Linked DNA regions of Homo sapiens: all the other regions are linked to region 1. Evidence: promoter capture Hi-C in human tissues and cell types (Jung and others, 2019). All regions are on one chromosome and are shown on one strand. Each heading gives the region's core, a stretch centred on a gene start or on the middle of the fragment in contact. The rest is flanking DNA. Distances are from core to core; before and after follow the strand shown.

Region 1 (4,272 bases), core at 513-3,012:
GTCCCCTACTCAACCCCCGGCCACTGGCCTTGGAGAAGAGCATTTAATGGCTGCAGCTCTGAGGCGCGAGATCCAGGGGCAAAAGGGGGACCGGGCCCCTGACAAGGAAGCGACCCTGGCTACCCTGCACTCTCTTGGACACTCCTTTCAACGCGCCCTTAGCTGGGCGAGTTAACCCCGTCCTGCGGGGAACCAGGCTCCCCGTAGCCCCTGCCCCGGGCTCCCTCCGGCGGCCGCCGCATATTTAAAGAGCCCAAAAAGGACCAGGCAGCCGGGTCTCCATGCGTTCTTTGTCGGGAGGGCGCGAGTCTTGGGCCACCGAGAGCTTGGAGGAGGGCGCCAAGGGGGCGGCTGCGGCGCGCCAGCCCCCGACCCGCGAGCAGCCCCGGGAGGCGGGAGAAAGAGCCTCCGGCCCCCAAGACTCTAGCCCCTTCAGCCCAGATCGGCCGAAGCGCCCGGGTCCCCGGCACCTCCTTCCTCCCGGGCAGTTGCAAAAGCAACTCGGAAAGCGCCTGCGAGCCCGGGTTTGTCGGATCCCGGTCGCTTCCAGTCACTGGGCGACACCGCGCCACTCGGGGCCGTGCACAATAGCGAAAGTCCGAGGACGCGCTTCGCCCGACCCCACCTCCCGCCTTCCCCGGGCCGCCCGCCGCGGCTCCCCACCTCCCCGCCCGGAGGGTTGCTGGCGCCCCGGGGCCGCGCGGCGCACTCGTGGGGTCTGCGCCGCTCCCCCCGGCCGGCCGGCGGGCAGTGTGCGACGGCCGCGGCGACTGGGCTCCCGCACTCCGGCCGCCCCGCGCGTGTCTGGGCCCCGGCAGTGGGGACGGGGTGGGCTGGTGCCCCCACCGCGCCCTCGTACTGACTTGCTGCTGCTTCCTGGGGCGGCCGCGTCCTCTCTTCTGAGGCGCTGGGGCGGCAGGTTGTCCCTGGGCTGAAGTGGACGGCTGCCCCGCGCCCTCACCGCGTGCGCTCATCCTGCCTCCCGCCGCCGCTACCGCCGCTGCAGCCGCTTCGCCTCGACCGCCCCGGAGCTGCCCAGCACCTTTCGGGAGATGAGGTGATAGGGCTGGGGACGCCGGCGGGGCGAGCGCGAGCTGGCGGGCTGCGAGGGCTGCTGTTGCTTAGGCTGCCGCCGCTGCCACCATCAACACCGGACGTCCAGCGGCTGCCAAAAAGAGAAGAGGGGAGGAGGAGGAGGAGAGGAGGAGGCGCTGCCGGTGGCGGCGGCGGCGGTGGGTGGGTGCCGGAGGTGGAGGTGGCGGTGGAGGTGGAGGTAGCAAGAGGAGGAGGGAAGCGAGGGAGAAGGAAGAGAGGCTTTGAGGTCGCAGAGGCTCCTCTCGCGGGTTGGGATCAGGAGTTGCGGGCACCGGGAGCACTTCGGAAGCGGCTTGGAAAGGGAAGAGACTTGGAGTGAATTGTGTCCCTTGAAATGTTAGGCGGGGAAAGAATTCCTCCTCCTCTTCCCCCCACCCTGCGAGAGAGAGAGAGAGAGAGAGAGAGAGAGAGAGAGAGAGAGAGAGAGAGAGAGAGAAGAGATTGAGATTGAAAGTGCCTTGGGCAGTCGGAAAGCAAAGGAGGATGGGGAGACTCCGCCGGGATAGGGTCGGGCACGGAGCACAGGCAGAGGACAGAGTAGTGGGTGGCACCGCGCCTCCTAGGGTGGCGGGAGCAGGCAGCGGCGGCACCGGAGAGTCGGAGGGGGACGGGCTGCTAGCTCCTGAGTCTTGCACCAAGCGCGCGCTGCCCGGGCTGGAAGTTTTCTGAGTTCCTGCCCCAAGATTCAAGTGGGATGAGTGTGTGTGAGTGTGTGTGAGTGTGAGTGTGTGTGGTGTGTGTGCGTGCACGCGCTTGCGCTTGGGGAGGGGGTGGTGGTGGGGGGAGTGCCCACCTCTAATCGTGGGCGGATAAAGGGGAGGGGGTTGCGCAGGAAGAAAAGTATGAGGAGGAGGGAGGCCAGGCGGACCGCCGAGCCAAGGCGCCTGGCTGCTAGCCAGAGGCAGCGTTCGAAATACAACTGCCTCGGCGGCGGCGGCGCCCGGGTGCCACCCGGAGCCCCGCTCACGTGCTCCCGCCCGGCGGCGGGGTTAAAGGGACAGGCCGGGGATCCCGGGCTGGCTCGCCGTGGGCCTAGCTCCACCCGCCTCTCGAGGTCACCCCTGGGCAGTTGTCCTGGGAAGGCGCGGGAACGTGACTGTCCCGGAGCCACGTTTCGGGGCTTGGCCTTTACCTGCGCCTCTACCGTGCCGAGCCAACACTTTGCAGGAAGCGTCTAGGCTGCACCTCAGGCAGCGCACCGGTTCACTGTGAGTGGGAAGGGACTGCAGTGGAGTGGGAGAGGTCCCCTGACAGCCGTACTCCGCCTCGGAATGCCCTCACCACAGAGCCTGCGGGCGGGCGAGCGCGCACATACACGGAGACATGCATGCAGATACACACGAACACGCGTGTAAGCACATGCACGCAGATACACGTGGACACGGGGGCATTCATGCGCTGGTAAACACCCGCATTTACACACACACACATACACACAGGCACGCAGATAGACATGCACATTCGCAGACACATGCAAACAATGTGCACACACAGAGCGCCCCAGCTTCTTCATTGAACTTTTTTCTCCAGGAAAGACTAGAGGCAACCGAAGTTCCCTCCCCATCCCCCTCCCCGGGAATCCGATGTTCCCAGGGTAAAGGGCACCTTGTAGATTCCTAACACCACAATTGCACTCACTGCCCAACTCTCCCTTCAGTTTACCTCGATTTAACCTTCTGCCTGAGAACTCTCTTTCTGCCAAGTCCTAATTTTATGGCCTGGGCTGTTCTGAGTTATGTGAACACCATAATGGCCACAGTCCGTTTTTAAAAGGTGGAGTACATTTTTAAATGTACCTCTTTTCATCCTTGAATAACACAAAACTCTGAAAAAATTAGGTTCAGATTTTCACACATCACACCCAAAATTATTTTGGACTAATTCCAAAATAAAAACTTTCACCTGGGGAAGAATTTATTTTTTTCAAAGATACAGACCACCGTGGAATAAAAACGCCTACTTTGCAGCCCTAAGCAGGAGTTAGGCACCGCCAGGTTCCGCTGTGCATGTGGAGGAGGCGCGTGTAAATGTCTGCTTTGGCGCGGCAGCGCTGATTGGTCCGCGTTGCCATTTTAAATCCATTTCCAGCTGCCCTTTGCAGAGCTGGGACACTTTGCTGCACGTTGAGTGCTCTGCAGGAACCCAGGGTTTCTGCTGGGTCTGGGAACGCTTAGCTGTAATGGAGAGAGAGAGCCTCCATCCCTCCGGATGGAGCCCAGCAGCTGACTGGGGAGGGAGGGGTCTAACAGGAACCAAAGGTTTTCTGTCAGGGCTTGGCTCAAAGATGGTATCTTCATCAAAGGGATTGAAGTTTCACCTAACGATTACAGTGACATTTCCTAACTGCCAATCGTGCACATTTAAAAACTATCACATATTTGCACTGTGGTGTGCACATTTCACATACACGTACAAAATAGGTTTTTGGGTTTGTGTTGTTTGCTCACTTTTTGCCAGGAGTAGAGAGAAATTCTGAAGGTGAATGCAGGGGAGTCACTGAGGAGTTCAGCCAGCCAGTTTTGTGCTGTATACCTCATTATATCCTAGGATTTTTTTTTTTTTGGTAACGTGTACAGAGGTCAGCAAAGAGCAGATTCCAAAATTTTGTTTTTGCGTTAATCTTTGAATATAAGAGAAGCACAGAAAAATTGGGGGTGGGGGAATATACAGCCACTTGTTTTCAGGCTGCTATCATTTTGCTATTAGACTATTTGACCCCTTTTGAATTTATAACAAGGGTATAAAACAAATATTGTATCAAGTTCTACTTAAATCAATTTTATATATTTTCATTCTTTGGAAGCTGTATTTAATTTTTCAGAATTCTGTATACTTTCTGTAGGTGAAACATTAAAATTTGTTGTAATCTTTGAAATTATTGAGACTTTTACTATTCAAAAAGGATTCTCATATATTTTTAAAATAATGTTAAATGGTTAGATTTTATTTTTAAGGAAAGGAATTTTTTTTTTACATTTACATCTGAGGGTTTTTCCCCCAGTTTATGTTTCTCAACCATTCACTGCCTCTTCTTTATCACACCATATTTTACCCATGTATTCAAGGCTCAATTCTTCTTTCCAATTTGAAAACTTTCCAGGTAGTTTCTGTCCATATTCAATTGTGTCTTTTCTTCTTCTGCACCCACCATAGAATTAAGCAATTAGCACCTTGGTT
Region 2 (4,272 bases), core at 975-3,474, 250 kb after region 1:
GATTTGTTTGGCTGGACCATGGCAGCATTTAGTCTGGTAATTTATTCCCTAGTACTGAGACAGGACCTTTCTAACTACTCTACCCAATGCTCCATAAATTACAAGATTTTTCAGTCTGGCTATTGGGAACAGACCCCATTCCCAGCCTTTTAACTGCTGAATATTTTTTATCTAATAGTTTCTCCAGCGTTGGACCATTTTCTCACATACATGTTTTAATCAGCACTCTGCTGAATACTCAAAGGGAATCCTCTGAGGATCTCCAGAGTTACTCACTCCTGTATCCCAACTACTCTGTCCTACACACTGTAGCTACCTTTGCAGTTGTTTGAGTCAGAGAGCTGAATCTGATCCCTGTTATTCCATCTTGGCTACAAGTAGAAGTCAATCATTTATTTTTAAATGAAATTTAAAGAAAATTGGCAAGATATGTACAAAAACTCCCATATCTCCTTACCCAAAGTTCCCAATTATTAACATTTTACCCCTTTCCTCCATCTCTCTCTCTCTCTCTCAAAATTTACATTATTCTGTTATAAACCATTTAAGCAGTAATTGCAGACCTGATGATTAATCACTCCCAATTCCTCCAGTGTATATTTCTCCAAAACAAATACATTCTCCTACATAACCACCTTACAACCCTCCAAATTAAGAAATCAACATTGATATAACACTGCTATCTAATTAACAGAACACTCTCAAGTTTTTCCAACTGTCCCAATAATATCTCTTTATTTTCTTGTCCAGGAGTCAACCCAGGATCATGCATTGCATTTAATTGTCATAGATTTTTAAATCTTCTTCATTCTGGAACAGTTCTTCAATCTTTCTATCTCTTCATTCTGTAGATATTCCTCTACCTAAGTTTATCTGATGATTCCTCATGTCCAGAATCAGGCCATTACTACTTTGCAGGAATGCTCTGATGCTGTACTTTACTTGGGCTATCACATCAAGAGACACATGAGGCCAATCTCTCCCTCCAATAGTGAAGTTGCTGTTCACTGGATCAAATTGACATCTACTAAGTTTCTCCATCATAAACTCAATGTTTTCCCTCTTCATAAGTATTTGGCAGGGAGATACTTTGATACTATGCCAATATTCAGCTCCCAATCAAACCTCCACCTTCCACATTCAACATTATTGATGGCTCACATTGAATTTCATGGAACCTGGACTTAACCCATATGCACTTAGTTTTCCAAAGGCATCGGCAACTATGATCAGCTGTTCCAGCTGTAACAGTCCTAATCTCCACTGCGGATCCATATATTTTTTTTAATTCCATAGTTTAGAGAAGCAGTTATATCCATCTAACCATCCAACCATATATAATTCATTCACTCATTCATTCATTAAACAAAAATTGTTGATATATCTACCATGTGCCAGGCACTGGAAATATAAAAAAAATAAGATGTCCAGGCGTGGTGGCTCACACCTGCAATCCCAGTACTTTGGGAGGCCAAGGCAGGCGGATTACCTGAGGTCAGGAGTTCAAGACCAGCCTGGCCAACATGGTGAAACCCCGTCTCTACTAAAAATACAAAAATTAGCCAGGCATGGTGGCAGATGCCTATAATTCCAGCTACTCAGGAGGAAGCTGAGGCAGGAGAATCGCTTGAACTCAGGGGGTGGAGGTTGCAGTGAGCCGAGATGGCACTACTTCACTCTAGCCTGGGGGAAAGAGCAAGACAAAAAATAAAATAAAATAATAAAAAAAAATAAGATACACTAATTGTACCTAATACAGTCCTAGCTTTAGTAGGGAAAAATGGCATGTCAACTAGTAATTACAATTTAATATGATTACAACAATATAATGCATTATTAAATATATGGAGTATCAAAAAAGCTTTATTAGCATATAAAAGGTTTCCTAAAGAGGTAATATTGGAGCTAGGTTCTTTAAGGTGAGTTATTTGTCTTTGGGTGGAAGTGAGGGGAGAGTAAGGATGTTTGAGATGGGAGAAAGAGGGAGGGCGGCAAGAAGGTAAGAGAAGAGAGACTGGTGATGGGGAGGGAGAAACAGAATGGAAAATTGTAGGTGGGCCAGGTCGGTGTGGGACAAATTGTTTTGATCATGCTTAGTAGTCCAGTTTTTATTCACTAGCGGTTCCCACTAAAAGTACAGATTCCTGGGACTCATCCTGAAGTTATTGAGTTAGAATCCCTGAGGAGGATCTGGGAATCTGTATTTTAACAAACATCTCAAGTTTATGAATCACTGCCATAAGCCAAAGAATATTTCAAATGCTTTAAAACAAAAGTGAAATAATCAGGTTTGTGTTTTTAAAAGCTCACAAAGGGACTTGTGGAGGATGACTTCGAAAGGGAGGCAGGTAGACACAACCATCTGTGTCCTCAGTCAGAGCACTCTACCAGTTATTGGCAACACACAGACTTCTAAATCCTATCTTTTCTGGAGCTTAAGTGATCTTAGCTGAATTTAAGGCATTTGTGGAGAGGATTTGATCCAAGCTACCAGCATTGTGTCTTGTGTTTCTGAATTGTTCAGGCTGTAAAGAAGATCCAGACCACTAAGATGCTCCAAAGTAGATTGTTAGAAGACACTAGCCGACAAGATCTGCCAAGAGTCTCATTGTTGAACATGTTCAACAGTTGAACTCTATGTTCAATAAGAGAAATTGTGGTGAATATGGTTGATTGGCACTCAATACCTATTCTACCCTCCTTTTAGTGCAGTGGCTTTTAAACTTTTTAAATAACTCAACCCACAGTAAGAAAAACATCTGATATTGCAATCCAGTATACACATATGTGTACTACAAAATAGTACTTGTGCTTACTGAGTTCATGATTTCTGATATTTTCTATTCTGTTCTATTTTCTTTCTTTTAATGTTCTCATGATCTGCTAATGATGGGTTCTGATCCCAAATTTGAAAGCCATTGCCGTGATGTGCAATGAAGACTACTTTTTCTCACACATTTCAGCTAAAGTCCCAGATGTATTTAGGCTTTGCAAACCAAATATCCTCATATTGCTTTTGCCATTTCTGCTGGCAGGTGTGTTATAAAGGTGTTTGGTCTTCTTGGCAATGTCAGCAGAGATTTGGTTGCTAGCATAGGTACCTTGCATGGGTATTTAGGAGAAAGGCAATGGACATCCATTTTTGCTAGTGCAGTTTGTGTCAGGAACAGAATGGTTCTGGAGTATGTAGCATTAGTGGCTTCATAATCCTGATACCTTTTAATCAGGAGGTTCTCTGATTGCAGTGGCTTTGTGATCAAGGCAGTGGCAATGTGGTGCTGGAGCCTGAGGAGCCCTGATCCTAGAGTGGCAGCAGCTCCCTTGGTTTCCAGTACTGTGTGTAACTGGGCAGGGCAAAGGAAGGTAACCAAAAGCTCACTCTATAGGCTGTGTTGTCTCTCCTTCCAAAAATTCTTTATGCCACTTAAAAACCTATAGTAAATCGCTACCTGCCTAAATTAGCTAGAGAGTATTCTGTTCTCTGCAACAGAACCCTAGACACAGAATAACCAGTCCTGCTGAATTACCAGTGAAGTACCAGCCGAGGGGGCTCAGGACTTGCTTAAGCCTTTATTCAGCAGAACTTATCTGGGTCTAGCCACAAAAATGAAGGAAGGACAACTGTGTCTAACAGCATGGGTCAATCTTAGAACCATAAGGTAGAGCAAAAATAGCAAAACACACAGTATATGGTTCTGTTTATATAAGGTTTTTTCTAAAACATGCAAATTAAACTATATTGCATAGTGATAGATCTAAAAAGAAAAGAAATATTTAACATTGATATGGTTTGGCTGTGTTCCCTACCCACAATCTCATCTTGAAGTTTAATCCCCGTAATCCCCACATGTCAAGGGAGAGACCAGGTGGAGGTAATTGAATCATGGGGGTGGTTTCCCCCATGCTGTTCTTGTGATAGTGAGAGAGTTCTCATGATATATGATGGTTTTACGTGTTTGGCAAGTTCCTCCTTTGCCCATTTTTCTGTCTCCTGCTGCCCTGTGAAGAAGGACATGTTTGCTTCCCCATCCACCATGATTTTAAGTTTCCTGAGGCCTCCCCAGCCATGAACTGTGCCATTGAACTGTGAGTCCATTAAACCTCTTTCCTTTATAAATTACCCAGTCTCACGTAGTATCTTTATAGCAATGTGAGAATGGACTAATACAACCATAAAATTCAGGATATGGGGCATGTGATTGGTAAGGTCATGGAAAGACTTCAGAGATGACTATGTTCTATTCTTGACCTAAATGGTCATTTCACAGGAGC
Region 3 (4,272 bases), core at 705-3,204, 230 kb before region 1:
AGCAGCATTTGTTTTTCTGCCTCTGTGGTCAAGTGCCACATGGAGTCCTCTCATTTATACCTTGGGGAGTTGGAGTGGCAGGACAGATGGTGTGTTGGCCATTTGCTGTCGTGCTCGGATTATATTGAGTTTAGGTGCTGCTGGATACATGGTTGAAGGTTTAGAGAAAATTGTTCACAATCTGTGAAGCATGTGAATTATATTCCTGTGACATTTAAAAAATTCTTGGCAGAGGAAAAAGTGTTGAGTGAAAGGTAATAATCCGCTGTTACCTTCCCCTTCATTTGACTGCTATAATAGCTGTTGGAAAGGCCTTTGAAAAATCTGCTGAATTAGACTCTTGCCATTGTGCCTCCCATTCATTAGATAGCCTCCTTATTCTTCTGTGCCATTTCCCACTGGCGGTCTGTGATTAAAAAATATTTTGAACACGGGCAAGCAATTGATGTTCAGTCCCCCAGTGATTCACTTCTTAACACAATAGGTTCTGCGTGAAATTGAGAACAAGTTTTGGTCATTACTTTTATGGGGGAACATGTTTCACAAGTGTCTGCTATTTCTTTAAAATTCTATCTCAGCCTTGTGGGAGATTATTTTTTGTTTATGGGAAAGTTTGGATGATGATATAGAAGTCTCTATTCAAATTTTTTGGAGACTTTCACCCAGATGGAAGAGGAAGAAAAAAAAAAAACCAACAAACCCTCTGAGACTTCATAACTTAGAACCATGCATATCATTTGTAATTTTTTCTAAGATGACTTTCATATCATTTGTAATTTTTTCTAAGACAATTTTCGGCAGTGCTCTTACTTCCTTCTTGATTTTTCTCTCACTTGTATCTTCACACTGACTGCGTTTATAAATACAGTTAATACTTACATTACACTTTTTTATGCATCAGGCATTGCCTGAAGAATTTTACATGAATTAACTTCACTGACACCTTACAACAACCTTATGATATAGTGATATTTTTAATATTATCCTCATCCATAGGCAAGGCAACAGAGGCAGAAATAACTAAAATAGGCCACTTAAGATCACAAGCTAGTAAGTAGGGGACCTGGGTATTTGAACACAAGCAGTCTGGCTGCAGAATAGTGCCAGCCCTTAACCATATGCTTCATTACCATTCACATCCCAGTATATGCAAAGCAAACCACAGACAGCCTAGCTCAGGCCCAAGGACTTCACCAGTAATTACAGAACCTTGCAGAGAAACCAGTGGCCTCTGGGTCTCAGTGCTGAACACTTTGCTCGTGTGCCCTTCAGTAGGCCATTCACTGAGCTGAACTTTGCTGCTTAAAGTAATACATCTTGGCTGGGCGCAGTGGCTCACGCCTGTAATCCCAGCACTTTGGGAGGCCGAGGCGGGCGGATCACAAGGTCAGGAGATCGAGACCATCCTGGCTAACATGGTGTGGTGAAAACCCGTCTCTACTAAAGATACAAAAAAAATTAGCCAGGTGTGGTGGCGGGTGCCTGTAGTCCCAGCTACTTGGGAGGCTGAGGCAGGAGAATGGCATGAACCTGGGAGGCGGAAGTTGCAGTGAGCCAAGATCACGCCACTGCACTCCAGCCTGGGTGACACGGCGGGACTCTGTCTCAAAAAAAAAAAATAAAAATAAAAAAATAAAGTAATACATCTTTAAAGATCAACCCAGTCTTTGTGGAAAAAGCTGTTAATGGAATAAAGTATTAAGAGAACTTTCTTCTCAGTGATGCACCCATTGAAGAAGGCAATTATCCAGAGTTGTATTTAAAATGTATAATTTCTTTTAGGCTTATAAATGCAGATCCTGTAAGTTAAAACAGATTGATGTGTGCATCTTTCTCTTTTTTCTGAGTAGTATTATTTTAAAGTACTATATGTCTTAAATTGTGTTTTTCAATGTTAAAGATTGTCATTAAGTGGAAACATAGAAATTCTATGTGACAGGCACGGTGGCTCATGCATGTAATCCCAACACTTCGGGAGGCCGAGGCAGGTGGATCATGAGGTCAGGAGTTTGAGACCAGCCTGGTCAACATGGTGAAACCCTGTCTCTACTAAAAATACAAAGATTAACTGTGCGTCGTGGTGGGCACCTGTAATCCCAGCTACTCGGGAGGCTGAGGCAGGAGAATTGTTTGCACCTGGGAGGCAGAGGTTGCAGTGAGCCAAGATTGTAGCATTGTACTCCAGTCTGGGCAACAGAGTGAGACTCCGTCTCAAAAAAAAAAAAAAAAAAAAAAAAAAAAAAAAAAAAAAAAAAAAAAAAAAAAAAAAAAAAAAAAAAAAAAAAAAAAAAAAAAAAAAAAAATTCTAGAATGAGTCCACTCAGGCCATTAGAAATGGAACTGGCCAGTTCTATCATTTGCCTTTTCATGTTTGTTTGCCTTTTCATGTTTGTTTGTTTGTTTGTTTTAACGAATTCAATTTCCTAAACTCTTATTTGGTCCAGTAGGATGATACGTTAGACAAAGACTGAGTTTACTGACTTCAACATCTGTTTTAAGAAATGTGCCACTCACCTTTAGTTGGAAGCTGCTAAGTTTTACCCCTAGAATGAGGTACACTTTGAGCAGTTAAGGTGAAGATTTTACCAGGCCCTCTTAAATGTTCATACCTTTTATACCTTCCTGAACAGAGCTCTGGGGATAGAGCAATGTGGTCTTGGCTATTAAAGATAGTGGGCCAGGAACACTTGGTCACAATAAATATAGGATCCTTCTTTCAGCTTTCTCTGTGGTCTTAAAATGAATCTACAAATTTAAAAATGTGTCATTTCCAGGATTATGATAATCCTAGGTAATGAGACACTTTCACAAACCCTACATTGTCAATCTGATGCTTGCTCATTTAAAAGGCCATATCCAAATGAGATTGAATTGTGTTAACTGTACAGTTTCCTGAATTCAATTCATGCCAACACCAAAAAGACTTAAATCAACAATATTTACAAGGTATCTAATTATAAAATCATAAAAGCAAATGAATTTATTGAATGTTATTTTAAGAAATTGTCCACCACTCTGAAATCCTGCAAAATCTTGGAGAGTAGAAATAAATTAGGGCAAAGTCCAAATATCTGTGGGCTTCAGCGAGTCTAAAATCTTCTTTCCAAATAATAACATTTATTGGTATGTTTCTAATTTATAAAAGTTATTCATGCTTATTTTAGAAAACTTGGAGGGAAAAGGAAGAAAACAAAACCATTTTCGATCTCTCTCATGCTTGAAATCTTGTCATCCAAGAAAAAAGCAACTGTGTGTATTCTGTTGAGGGTCCTTTTTCAAAGTGACTACATTATTGAATTTAACACGCGTTTGAATTTAAAATACAAACAAGAATATCTGATAACAGCAGCAATTACAATGACTCTATACTATAATTTCTAATGCTAGGACACTCCAATTTAAGATACACCTTTCCTTATTTACTTTTTAAAAGTTACTTTTTCCAATTGTGAAAGTTACATTTTAACTATGGAAAATTCGAAGAGCATGGGAAAAAAAGTCACACAGTCATCCTTACTTCTTCTCAGGACAAGCAGTAATATTGATCTATTTTTATCTAGCGCTAAAGCTTTTCTTTCTTTCTTCAGCAGGTGCTTTCTCAGAAATAGGTTGCTCAGGTCCTCTTAGAAAGGCAGGCAGATTTGGCAATGTCAGATCCTGGACCAGTATTTGGCAGACTAGCACTGTGTTAGCAAACAGTTTCGAACAACTGTGCTCTCTGGGTAGGACTGTGGGTGGAGTGTCTAGGAAGGGAACTGAAAATGATCTGTGATGAAAGCAAATTCAAATATGTTGGGAGCTGAGTGATCTGTCTATCCACAGCTCATATTTGCCACTGGTACTTCTTTGATTGAGATAAGTGTCATCTTGTCCTCATTCCAGCTTGTGCTTCACCACAATGTAGTTTTCATTTCCCAATCAGCTTGTGAAAATAACCAACCCAGCCTAATTGAATCAGGCACATAGTAGGTCCTATATAAATGCGTATTGAGCTCAACTGAAGAAAACTAAACTTAGAATCTGGATGGCAGTCTTATTTAAGAATATCAAATTGTTTTGTAGAAAGACCTATAACTGGGGCCAGGTGCCATGGCTCATGCCTGTAATCCCAGCATTTTGGGAGGCTGAGGCGGGTGGATCACAAGATCAGGAGTTCAAGACCAGCCTGGCCAATATGGTGAAACCCCATCTCTAATAAAAATATGAAAAAGTAGCCCGGTGTGGTGGCATGCGACTGTAACCCCAGCTTTTCAGGAGGTTGAGGCAGGAGAA
Region 4 (4,272 bases), core at 593-3,092, 230 kb after region 1:
TCTATATTTCATGCCCTTCTCCTTCACTGCAGAAAGCTGGCCTCAATGCTGTGAAGCGGATGCCCAATGAAAGCAAAGTTAAGCTCTGTTCAAGTCTGACCATTACTTCCATTATGCATGAGCATTTCCATGACGCTCTATATTGGTCAATGTTATATTACTCAGTCTATAGGGGAGTGAAAGGAGTGTATTAGTAAATGGTATTTCCACACACTTCCCTCTCTTAACTTCTTTTTTGGGTTTCCTTTTCGGGTTCTGAATTTTCCCTCTCACATAGAATTCTTCTTGTTTAGTTCCATCAGAATCCCTTTCAGGAAGAAATTCTATGAAGACAGCATCCATTTTACAATGCACAAAGCAGGTGGCACACAGTGAAGTTTTCCTTTAAGTTTTTCATTAAATAGAAACACACTATGAAATAAAAACATTAAATACAAACAGTACATCACCCTACCTTAAAGGAAAATATATCTTATTTACCAAGTGGAGGAAAGAGGGACATAGTAACCACACCAGTTTAACCACTATCTATGAAAACATTAAAATAACTGATACATAAAGTATGTGCTTTATAGGTATCACCTGTTTTACATTTATTTTATTTTATTTATTTATTTTTTTATTTTTTGAGACAGAGTCTCACTCTGTTGCCCAGGCTAGAGTGCAGTGGCGTGATCTTAGTTTACTGCAACCTCCGCCTCCCCGATTCAAGCAATTCTCGTGCCTCAGCCTTCCGAGTAGCTGGGGTATAGGAGCACGCCACCACGCCCAGCTACTTTTTTGTATTTTTAGTAGAGACAGGGTTTCACCATGTTGGCCAGGCTGATCTCGAACTCCCGACCTTAGGTGATCTGCCCACCTCTGCCTCCCAAAGTGTTGGGATTACGGGTGTGAGCCACTGCGCCTGGCCTGTTTTACATTTAATATCTCATTTATTTCTCACGACCATGGTATTTCTTATCATGATAGAGAAAAACAAAACTTAACAGAGAGTAAGCAAGATTTGTTCAAGGTCATGCCAATTCTTTAAGTGATTTGAGTGCACATGATTCTGACTTGAGAATCAATTCTCGGAACCACCATTTCCCGTTCTTCCTCCCATATTTTTTCAAGGGCGAATATGAGAAAGAGGCCATTTCCACTTCGAGTAGATTCTTCTACCTGTGTCTATCTCTATTTTGGGTAAATGCAACTGTTCTCTGGTTCTGGCCCTTGGGTGAACCCCCAGGCATTTGGAGCTCTTCATTAAGGGGTGACTCCTGGCCTTCGACATCTTCATCCAAGCTTCACTCCATTTCCACTGCTCTTCTCAGGCCAAACATCTCTGAAGGGTCTGTGATTGAACTTGGGGGTGGTGGGGGTAGGGACAGCGCAGTACAAGCATACGCTTCTCACTGAAAGGGCAGCTGTCCACTGAGTTCACACAGTAACTTGAGTAGGTGTGTTACTTAATACGCCACAAGAAAATGCCCACCCTGAGATTCTGAAATTGTGGTTTTAATAGGCCTCCTGCTGCTGCTCGGCTGCCTTCCAAAGGCCTGTTGAATTGCTTCCTCTGCAAGCAGGACCTTCTGTCAGAGACTCTGGGGGGACTGTGGTTGTGGATCTGTGGTGAGAGGTGACAGGTGGCCACTCTGCAATTGTGGGATGTTAAAATGAATACTAAAACCTTTTTTCCAAAGGGTGACTAGAGACTAGGTAAAGAAAGAATGGCTATTTGGTACTGTGCCCCCAAGTTTCTGTGCCTCTGGAGAAGGTGTGCTGGCTCCTGCCCAGCTTTCCACACTCAGAGACCTAAATCCTCCCAAGACTCATTCTGGGAAGATCTTGGCATGAGGACACACTGGCTATGCCCAGGCTGGGCCTTCCCAGAGGTTTGCTTAGCTGGGACCCCTCACCCAACTAAGCCTCCCCACCTGTGTCAAGGAGGTGGCTCCTAAAAGAGCATAACTACCATTTTTGCAGAGGATCGTGCCTTTTTTTCCTCCTCAAGAATAGCAAGGAACTACTACAAATGGCCTCAGACATGGTAATTTAAGAGGCAATAGGCCTTTTTATTTTTGACCCAAGGCAGAGCAAACTTCATTTAATGACTAGGAGTTTTTAACAGCTTACCAAATGAATTTTTCCCCACTATGGAACAGTGGAAGTTGAGAAGTTCCTCAGCCCACGGAAAGTTCCTCAGCCCACAGGAAGGGCTTGGTACATGAACTCTATCAAACGTGCTCTGAAATGGGATGAGTTGAATCCAATTCATCTCCTAGAGACAGGGCATGGGCCATTTTTGGAAGCATTGTTTGTTGTAGAGAAGTGAGAAATGTTTTGAGAGTCCAACTAAGATATGTGTCATATGTTTTATATCAATGGCTATGCTTTTTTTTTTTTTTTAATCAGGTTTCTGTTGTTGAAACTTTTCTAGAAGTATCTGCTCCTTAGGCCTGAGCTGTGTTGCTTTATTACTGCTCTGATCTGTCAGGGTATTCCTGGGAGACTGTGCAGCTTTTCCTAAAATCAGGAATTCATTGTATAGACTCTGTTTTTCAAATACTTTCTTAAAGACTGAAAGCCAGGCTCAGCCTCTTATCTTTGGAATTAGCATCTATTAGCACTACTCTGTCATGGTACACAAATGTCACTCTTTTTGGTTGTCCAATAAACATCAGAACTTCTTACCCATATTTGAAGACTTCCACGCTTTAGGATTCTTGGTGGAAGCTCATGTTATCAACTAGTACAGAAGCTAAAAATGCTGCATACATACTTATTGTTTCCCAAATTTCTCTAGAGCTAGGCGCGAGCATGTGGCCCAGGTTCCCCAGTAATATGTACCTTTGCATACTTGGAATCTAGAAGTCATGATGCAAGAAGCTCGCATTGCAAGGAAGACTCTGGTAGTGGTGGCAGCTGCCCATAGAATCTAGGGATCATAAGCAGCTATGATGTCCTCACCAGAAAGGTTCTGCAATTTGATTCTGAGCATTGTTCCTGGCTATAGAGTTCAGAATCTTCTCTAAGGCACCTGGCAATTCCACGAGCTACTCAAAAGCCTTTTAAGAGCCGGATATGGTGGCTCTTGCCTGTAATCCTAGCACTTTGGGAGGCTGAGCCCAAGGGTTTGAGACCAGCCTAAGCAACATAGTGAGATCCAGCTCTAGAATAAATTTAAAAATTAGCCAGGTGTGGGGGTGTGTGCTTGTAGTCCCAGCGACTTGGGAGGCTGAGGAAGGGGGATCACTTGAGCCCAGGAGTTTGAGGCTGCAGCGAGCTATGATTGTACTACTGCACTCCAGCCTGCGTGACAGAGTGAGACTGTTTCTCAAAAAAAAAGTGGGGGCCTTTTAATAATTTTTTTCCTTAGAATGGCTGTCTGCTGTTTACAACTAAATATTTTCACTTAAAACAGTAGAAATAAGTTTTAAATAGGTAGAAGTTCCAATTTTTTGATAACAAAATCATCTTAAATTATAAAACTGTACACTAATGTGGCTCAGAGTCTTTGAACTTGAGAGTGCATTATGAATATAAATACACATATATTTACATATTCATGCAGAAATATGTATAGAAACATAAACATGTACACATGTATATGTATGTGTGTGCATGTCCAAGTCACACAATTCAATATGTCACATTAGAATTGGAAGTCAGTGGCTTCCAATGCCAAACTTTAAATTCTCTTCTGTAGTTGTTAGGTCACCTGCCTTCTCCACAGTCAATTGCTTTCTGTTCACTCCCTCTTTATTGAAAGAATGTACTTTATTTTTATCAAGCTGAACAGTGTTCTCCTCCTTTCCCAACCAATTTCAGCTGAGCTAATCACTGACACAAACTGAACTAAGACCAGTGTGGGCTATTCACCCACACCAGCCATGGAGTAGCATTCATTTTGAAGCAGAAACACTAAACATTAAGTGAAATGTGCAGTTGTTAAAAGGGAAGTGTGTGCCATATACCCTCAGGGACATGTGCTGTACTTAAGGAAATCTGGAGGCTCTGAAAACCTGGTTCACAAAGCGCACACACTTTTCTACAACAAGAAATCTAATAATGCAGAGAAAACTGAAGGAAACTTCCCTGGAATCTCCACGTAACTAAGTGCTTTCCAAAGCTCTTAGCCAAAGCATGAGAATGTTTTCTAAGTTTTCCCCCTTATAGATTATAGCATTTAATCTTCGCAGTGACTCTGGAGGGCGAACTAAGGCAGGCACTACTACCTCCATCTTAAAGATGGAGAAACCAAGGCCAAGGTCAACAGTAAACTAATGGCTC
Region 5 (4,272 bases), core at 864-3,363, 200 kb after region 1:
ATACAGGCAGCATTTTTATTTTCTGAACATTGATGTGTTTCCCTCACTTATAAATACTGTAGTGCCTGGCACATAGTAGCACTCAATAAATAGTCCTTAATGGATGAATGAACTAATGTTACAAAAGGAGTAGTTACTTAGTGGACACAGCATTTATGAATCCCTCAAGTATTTACTGAGTATCTAAATAACCTAAACTGTACTAGATTATACAAGAAAACCAAAGGCATTCAGAAAATTAAATTTTAAATAAAGCTTTGTCTTAATCTAGGCATCTTGGAGAATTCAATAGTTTAATTTCCAATTTTAGAGAAAAGTAACAATTTCTTTCTATTTTAATTTTCACAAGTAGTAGGTTGGAATACTAGGCTCAATTCTCCGTGCTCACCCTATAAAAGCATTTGCATCCACACGCCTTGTCATATAACTGCAGTGCTTCTGTACAGCGGACAAGGCATTCATCTCTGCCGTTGGGCTTTGCCATGTGACTTTTTCTGGCCAATGGGATGTGAGCAGATGTGTTCTGAACAGAGGCTTCATGGCACTTGCATGGTCCGGTTTGCGCTCTTGGGCATTTGCCATCTGCCATGAAACAAGCAAGTCCCAGTCAGCTACCAGAGTGAGAAATTAGGTAGAGCAAACCTGAACTCACCTAGAGCCTGCCAATGCACAGATCCTTAGCCAAAAAGTGAAACTTTATTGTTGAACCCACTAAGATTTCATAGTTGTTTGCTACCCAGAATTAGTATAGCCCAAATCTGACTAATGTAGCCACAAATAAACATAACTAACTTATTAATAGTAACTCTCCTACCTGGAATTTAATATAGAAAGAAAATTTCACCTTTCATTAAAATTAAAGTTAAAAATAAAAGGCATTTCATGGTTTTTCTAAAGCTTCCTTGAAAGTGAGCACATTAAAATATGAAAAGTGAGGTATATTTCCTAAGACAAACATGATTTAAGGCGCTGTTCTAATGAAGGTGAAATGTCTGGCAGTGAAAGAGCACAGGAGTAGGAGCAGAAAGTGTGTCCTAGCTAGATTTTATGCCCTGTCTTCCCCTGGGTGAGCCACCAAAAATCAAGAAATCCCTGGACATTCCTACATCTAGAACATGAGGACATCGCAGCAGATGGTTGCTAAGGTAGCTTTCTGCTCTAACATCTGATTTGCCATTTTCATGTAGAATTAGAATAAAAATTATCTCATAGCAATAGAAGAAAAGTACTCACTGATGGATGGAAACAAGAATTTTAAAAATATCCCATGGAATTGAATTATTCTATTGTACATAGAATTTAAAAGCAAATGAAAAGAAGGACAGCCTCAAATCAAATCACGTCAAAAGGATAAAACTCTTATAAGGCAGCTTATTCTACAGAATGGCTTGTGGCCATTTTTCTTTGATAAGAAAATAAGTGGAGAAACAGTGTCATCTTTATTTTTTATTTATTTATTTTTACTTACATTTATGTTTATTTAGGACTAAAGAGGGTTATGGAGATTATGGGGGAGCTGAAAACCTCATGGTGTTGGCTTCTGTTTTTTTTCTAATTTCAGTTTATATTTTAGATACAGGGGGTACACATGCAGGTTTGTTACATGTGAATATTGCACCATGCTGAGGTTTGGAGTACAGCCCCCATCACCAAGGTAGTGAACATAGTGCCTGATAGGTAGTTTTTCAACCCATGCCCCCCTCCCAGTAGTCCCTAGTGTCTATCGCTCCCATTTTATGTCCATATGTTCTCAATGTTTAGCTCCTAATGTAAGTGAGAACATGTGGTATTTGGCTTTCTATTCCTTCGTGAATTCACTTAGTACTATGGTCTCCAACTGCATCCACGTTGCTGAAAAGGACATGATTTCATTCTTTTTGTATGGCTTTGTAGCATTTCATGGTGTATATGTGCCACATTTTCTTAATCCAATCTACCGGTGATGGGCACCTGGGTTGATTCCAATGTCTTTGTTATTGTGGATAGTGCAGTGATAAACATACAAGGGTATGTGTCTTCTTGGTAGAATGATTTATTTTCCTTTGGTTACATACCCAGTATCAAAGTATCATTTTTATTAATAAGAATACAATTTAAAAAATAACAAGTCACTGGAAAGTAAATTTGTTGAAAGTTATTCTCATCCAACTTTTACGTAGCAAACGCATGGATCAAGTGTCTGGGTTGCTGTCTGTATTATCCATATTCACTATTCTTAGAACTGCTTCTGTAAAACTGATGTACTAGCCTCTCCAAGCTTTGCTCCAGGTTACAGCCTGCTTCTTTAGGCAGGAACGGAGTTGTAGAAATGGTTGCTCTCTGAAAGACAAACTTTATGGGAGGAATTCCTTTTTAGTGTCTTTTTTTAACTCCTCTTCAAGAAAAATGATCTGTCTTGGTAACATGTCTTGTCTTTTCCTGATCACTTTTTGCAATGTGCCTTCCCCTAGCAATCTGCTACAGCAATCAGCTTTTTCTGCGAAGGAGCCCTGTCATCTCTCAAGGCAGGGAGAATCATCAATGGCATCTCACTTCAACAAATTAGCCACAGTGTTTACACTGCAAGTCCTGGAGGCTGAGCTTTCTTGCATTTCAAGAAATTCCCAGGATTCTAATGTTTTTTCCAAGTGAGAATGTTTTGATCCAATGCATTTTACTTCTCTGGCTTAACATACATTATTCTATGGGCACCTACTGAATGCTTTAAGCCAAACTCTTAGAAATATTAATGCACATACACACATACACTGTTGATGCAAATAAAAAAGGCAGTGTGCTGCAGGAGAGAGAAACTGATTTGAAAGTTAGGAAACTTAGAGATTTACATTCTAGTTCTAGTTCAGGTAAGCCAATCATTAACTGTGTGACTTTAGGCATATCACTTCCCCTAAGATTCTCTTTCCTCCATTGTAAAATGAAAAACAAAGGGCTTGGGTTAGATTAATCCTAATAACTACTCCAGCGCTAGCATTCTATAACTTTAGGCTTCTAATTGGTAGCTAGATAGGGATAAATTGTTAAGGCAAGGCGGTGGAAGCCATTGTGCATAAGTCCTGTGATCAGCTTTTACCCCAAGCAGAAGCTGTAACTTGTCAGGGGCTTATTAAAAGAAGGGCAGCCCTGAAAGACTCACAAAACCCTTGCCTCAATTCTCACACAATATTATTAATATGGCTACAAAATAGTGGTATCACAAGGCGGCTTCAACTGCTGCCACTACTATATTTTATTAGTTGTATTGGTCCTCATGCAGAGCCCAAGGGTCTGAGCATTTGAAGAGCTCATATTATAGGGCTGAGGCTAAGGGAAGAATAATAATAATTAAAAAAAAAAACATAGTCAGGGGTGACCTAAGTAACTTCCTGAAGTTCCTTTCAGGCCCATGAGTTAATGTATAGGAAGAACAAGCTTATTAATCAAAAAACACTGATCTGCTCAATGTCTAATTATACCTGTCACTGTTGTTGCCCACACTTCAGGCCTGATATGTTTCTTCACTGAAGTCACGTGGCTGTATTTTCAGACCAGTTTCTAGTTGCTCTGTGTATTTTCTGTGTGACACATCTCTTCCATGTGACAGTTGAAAATTGTCCAGAGAAACACCAAAACCCCGCTATAGAACAACCCTGCAACCCAGAGACCATACAACCCCTTTCTCTTCTCCTCCCCCGCCCAGAGCCTCCTGTTAAATTTCCAGCCATCTCTCAAGGCCAAGCTCAAACCCTTCCTCCTCCGAGAAGCCTTTCTTGATCCTCTCCCCATCAGTCTTAATCCCTCCATTTCTTATACTCCCCAAGCACTTTGTACCTCTATTATTTTAGCACTTACTTACCAAAGTCTGTCTTACATTAAAGTTATTTTGTGCATATGTTTTTGCCATGACATTTCAAGCTTTTAGAGGGAAGAAACAAGTCTTATTTTTCCTTTCTATTGCCTGCAACATTCAGGAAAAGGGTTTGCTCATAGTAGACACTTAAAATTGTTCCATGAAGCGTGAAAGTAGAAAATGAGTGAAGCGAGAACCATGTCTTATTCATTCTTTCATTTTCACATTTTATTACAAAATGCTTTTTATGTAGTAAAATTCTTAAAATTGTTGGATCACTTATAAATGCATTAAATAATGTAAAAATACTAAAGTAGAAAACTAATTAGCCTTGTAATTTGCTCATATTGCCATTAAAATAAATTTAGTTTATTTAATCAATGTCAAGAATGAAATTTGCCAGTAATATTCCTTTAGAAGTAAATGCTCCTTTCATTCACCCAATG
Region 6 (4,272 bases), core at 730-3,229, 150 kb after region 1:
TTACATTAGGCTGTTTTTTCTTGAGAAAGTCATAGTTTAAACAAATGGTTGTGTCTATTTTAATCATTTTTGCCCTCTTTTGAAGTGTTTTTTCAAACAGAAGTTTTTTTTTAGAATAGAGTTTTGCATTATAAATTAGTCTGCTCTGTCATGTCCCTTTTAAACACAGCTGTTACTACAATGTAAACAGAGTTTTTAAAATGTAGATAAACAGTTACAAGAGGAAGAGTTTCAAGTGTTTTTAACACATGGTCAGTTTTTGCTTACTTGAATTCTGTGGTTTGAAAGTTGAATTCGAAATACACTTTTGATTTCACAGATGTCAAGCTATTCAATACAGCTGTTCATGGATGCCCAATTTTAATTTCACAGCTGGCACAGTTTTGACAATATCACATTTTTGAAGTCATATCAGTAGTAAACCTAGGATGAATATGGAAATTCTACAATGGTACACTACAATACTCCTTTGAGGCATAAATGTTGAATGTAAAAACTATCTAGTAGGCCTAAGCTAAATTATAAAACAGTTTTTCATGGTCATCCACCATATTTGCTATGAAATACACAGCAAATTTCAGTATCTTCATAGAAGGTACAGTTATAATCCCAAGAAGAGAAACAAGAGAATACTAATTCTTTAGTGTAATAATCTTATATTTTAAGAATTTATGCCAAAGTACCCACCTTAAAAAGTTAAAAATTACACATTATTTGGATGTAAAGCTTTTGACTGATCTAAGTTTGTTGTTTTGACAAAATTCAAACAAATGAACTTAAATATAGCATCTGTGTCATTTTCCATCAGCATAAAATGCAAGCACTAGACATAAGTACACAAGAATCACAAGCATTTGGAACTGGCAGAGTATTAAAACTAGAGCATTTCAATGTTTTTTGGGGGAAATGTAACAATATATTTGAAATGTATACTTCCATGATCTATCTAAAAATCTACTATCAAAAATATTATAATGGATGATTAAAGGTATCACTGTTTAAATTATTATCCAGAAATTCCCAAGTCGTTGTTTACCTGTGACTTCTATTACTTGAGTAATAAATTTTGGGACCACATAATTTTAGATAATTATTTAGCAAATGTTCTTTTAGCAAATGCCACATAAAGTAAAAATGAATGTAAAATTAAATTCTATCTAAAAAACAGTTTAGTTAGAAAATACCATCACTGAAATGTCCAAGAAAAACATACACAATTTCTATCCATATTGTTCCCAAACCACCAGGCCTGAGTTATGGATCTTAAGGAGGAAGCCATCTTACCAAACCTAATTACTCTGTGTTTGGCTTGGATAAATGGTTAACTGATTATTTAGTTATATCACACAACCCAACATGACCTCATTTTCAATAAAAACATATGATTTGATCCAGAGCTTTCCACAGTACTTCATAATTAGACACCTTATCCATCAGGCTGCAAGAAAACCCTGGTAAAGAGTAAAACAAGAATTTTCATGTGTTAAGTTATACACCAGAGGGAGTCCCATGAATATAATACAAACATACTGACATTGCCAAGGAAAAGTCAATTAAAAATTATATGCACTCTAAGAGTTACAAAGCTCAAAATGTGTTGTGTAATTCAGGCTGAATAGCCCTTGAGTATAAGCATTCATGAAAATTAGGCTTTATTTATTAATGTTTTTATCTCTAGGAGTTCCTAAGAACTTTCCTAAGTGAATTTTAGAACTGATGTTAAAAGTATAAACCACATTTTCTTCATCAGAATTTCAGATATGTTTGTAGGTATGAACACACATACTATATACTTATAAGTAATGCCATATTTAGAATCTTTAAATTTTTCCTAAAACATGATCATATATCTGATCTTTTAATGTACATAAATACTCTTTCAAGCTAAATTGAGTTAACTCCCTTAAATAAAAAATAATCTGAATTTCTTCCAAAAACTCACCTCTTATATTTATTCAGTGTGATGGCTGTCCCTCATACCTCTCTGAGTCATGTACATAAAGCCTGTACATGAAACCAGGATAATTTGCTTCTGTTTCTGCCAATTTTTTTCCCTTGGATTTCTCTTTCTTGTTGAGCCTTTACTGTACAATTGACATGGAGAATCTTGCCAAATACAAGTAACAGTAACTCTATAGGCTTCCATGGTTACAGTCCCCAAAGAGCTTTGAATAACACTTGAAAATTTAAGACCAAGGAAACCATTAATATCTTTGTAGGCTCTTCATTTACTTATTTATGTTTTTAAAAACAAGTTTCACTGGGTTTTATTTCACTTATTACTTCAACCCATTGATATAATTAGTATTAAACATGTCAAGTGTTATTTTATTAACATAATGCAAAAGGAATCTTCCAACCTATAAGCCATTTTTTTAATCTGTTAAGGGGAAAGAATTAGTGAAACCTTGGTAAAGAGTAAAACAAGAATTTTTCAAGTGCTTGAAAATTTTAGACAAGGTGTTAAATTGCCGCTGAAAATATAGAACCTCCTGGGCTGACAACTACTATTCTTTTGGAGATGCTAACTTACTGGTGGGCTTCCCTGTTTCTTTTAAATATTCTTAATGTGATACTGGAAGGGGCTGTCCCAAGGTCAGACATTGAAATGTAAAGTTGTGAGGTGATGACTGAAGTGGGAATATTATGAAATCTTCACCCTATATTATTTTAGTATAGCACAGCCTTAGGCAAATATAATCACTTCCACCAGATACTAATTCCTATTTTTGTGAAGAAAGTCCAGGATAACTCAAGGAAGGAGAACCTCTAGGGAATGCAATCTGGAAAGTGTTCTTTCCCCTGCCACTTCCCTGCATTCCTGACCAGCTCTCTCTTGCCCCAGTCTCCGCCCTAAATGGCCCCATTGTCCTTTCACTTACGCAGGTTAGCTGCCTCCAGTAGCTTTGCCCAACATCACCTAGGGACCTTCCTATTCCTTCCTCCAATTCTTTTCATCCCCCACTCCCCACAATCAATGTATTTTCTGGAGATTGGTCGGGTTGCCCTATCTTCTTGAAGGAAAACATCGGATTCCTGCCCACTCCTACCCTCCATGGAACTTTGTGGCATGGTACAAATTCCATGGTAGTGATGGCATTCTGGCCAAAGGATGAAATAATTTACACTTTCATGAAATAAAATCCAAATGTCCCTGGCATACAACCTCAGCTCAGAATGTTTATCTGCCCCATCCACCACATCATCTCCACCAGGCAGCTAAATAATTAAAATGATAATTTTCTTTTTTTATTTTATTTTTATTTTATTTTTTGAGATGGAGTCTTACTCTGTTGTCCAGGCTGGAGTGCAGTGGCGCGATCTTGGCTCACTGCAACCTCTGCCTCCCGAGTTCAAGCGTTCAAGCAATTCTCATCCTTCAGCCTCCCTGAGTAGCTGGGATTACAGGCACCCGCCACCACACCCAGCTAATTTTTGTATTTTTAGTAGAGACAGGGCTTCGCCATGTTGGCAGTGGCTTTAAGTGACAGGAAAAAAAAATCTAATTCAATCTTGCTTAAGCAACAAGAGAAATTTATTTGTTCAGGCAATTGAAAAGCTTAGGAGTAGGCTAACTTCAAGTGTGACTTGATTTAGGGACTTGAGTGTTGTTATCGAGATCCTTGATGCCTAGTTTTGCCTTTCCTTCTTTTAACTTCGGACTCCAGGGACACATATTCCCAGATGCAAGTTGAGAGGAAAACTCTATGTTTCTTCCTGGTGATTCTCACCAAAGTCCCAGAATTCATTCTTAATGGATCAATTTGAGGCAAGTGCATATTTGTGAGTTAATAACTATAATTCAGGGAGCAACAGTGCTATTGACTGGCCAGTCTTGGATCATAAGCTCCAATCCTGGAGTTGGGAAGAGAGGCCATCTAATCACGCAGTCTGATAGATGATGAAACATGGTCCCCCAAAGCAAGTTCTGGCACTGTTTCCAAATAAAGGGAGGATGAATGTTGGGCAGTATGATCTTCTCAACTCTAAGTAAAGACACAAAGCATCACAACCTGCTCTCAAGGTGGGCTTACATTTGGCACCAGGAAAATGAGGCCATGTTGAAAGAATATAAAAATCAGGTCTTATGCTTCAGTTGCATGCTTTAATGTCTAGGTGTATTTTAAATATTTCAGCAATATTTGCTGTTCCAAATCAATTCCTTCTCTTGAATTTCCCAATTCTGTAAATAAAAACACCACTCTCCTAACTTCTTAGGCTCAAATGATCCAAGGCCAGGCCTGTGGTGAAGAATGAGGTGAGGCACTTGCC

Evidence for each region. The method cuts DNA at HindIII sites, captures the fragments that hold promoters and counts their contacts. A contact is called where the count stands out against the background at its distance.
Region 2: a contact is called between a fragment that was not itself captured here and the fragment with the promoter of HMGA2 in region 1, in 2 of the 25 tissues and cell types used here (IMR-90 fibroblasts and mesendoderm cells).
Region 3: a contact is called between a fragment that was not itself captured here and the fragment with the promoter of HMGA2 in region 1, in 1 of the 25 tissues and cell types used here (aorta).
Region 4: a contact is called between a fragment that was not itself captured here and the fragment with the promoter of HMGA2 in region 1, in 1 of the 25 tissues and cell types used here (IMR-90 fibroblasts).
Region 5: a contact is called between a fragment that was not itself captured here and the fragment with the promoter of HMGA2 in region 1, in 3 of the 25 tissues and cell types used here (IMR-90 fibroblasts, bladder and mesenchymal stem cells).
Region 6: a fragment that was not itself captured here is called in contact with the fragment with the promoter of HMGA2 in region 1 in 1 of the 25 tissues and cell types used here (ovary).

What each region holds. Positions count from the first base shown.
Region 1 is chr12:65,821,973-65,826,244 of GRCh38, reverse strand. It overlaps HMGA2 (high mobility group AT-hook 2), which reads right to left and starts at 1,762. Exons shown (of 5, transcript NM_003483.6): 1 at 864-1,762. The coding sequence starts at 974. It also overlaps the pseudogene RPSAP52. RefSeq lists an enhancer at 35-642. The HindIII fragment of the contact is 9,780 bases long and covers 1-4,272 here.
Region 2 is chr12:65,570,229-65,574,500 of GRCh38, reverse strand. All of the region lies in intron 1 of MSRB3-AS1 (MSRB3 antisense RNA 1), which reads left to right. Among named protein-coding and RNA genes, the nearest start is that of LINC02454, 31 kb to the left of the region's middle. The HindIII fragment of the contact is 8,770 bases long and covers 1-4,272 here.
Region 3 is chr12:66,055,624-66,059,895 of GRCh38, reverse strand. No RefSeq gene overlaps it. Among named protein-coding and RNA genes, the nearest start is that of LINC02425, 27 kb to the right of the region's middle. The HindIII fragment of the contact is 4,301 bases long and covers 1-4,104 here.
Region 4 is chr12:65,587,751-65,592,022 of GRCh38, reverse strand. The region is part of intron 1 of MSRB3-AS1 (MSRB3 antisense RNA 1); the gene reads left to right. Among named protein-coding and RNA genes, the nearest start is that of LINC02454, 13 kb to the left of the region's middle. The HindIII fragment of the contact is 4,845 bases long and covers 1-4,264 here.
Region 5 is chr12:65,618,482-65,622,753 of GRCh38, reverse strand. All of the region lies in intron 1 of MSRB3-AS1 (MSRB3 antisense RNA 1), which reads left to right. It overlaps LOC105369806 (a long non-coding RNA gene), which reads right to left and starts at 458. Exons shown (of 4, transcript XR_945028.3): 1 at 389-458. The HindIII fragment of the contact is 3,074 bases long and covers 577-3,650 here.
Region 6 is chr12:65,671,202-65,675,473 of GRCh38, reverse strand. No RefSeq gene overlaps it. Among named protein-coding and RNA genes, the nearest start is that of MSRB3-AS1, 31 kb to the right of the region's middle. The HindIII fragment of the contact is 4,103 bases long and covers 1-4,030 here.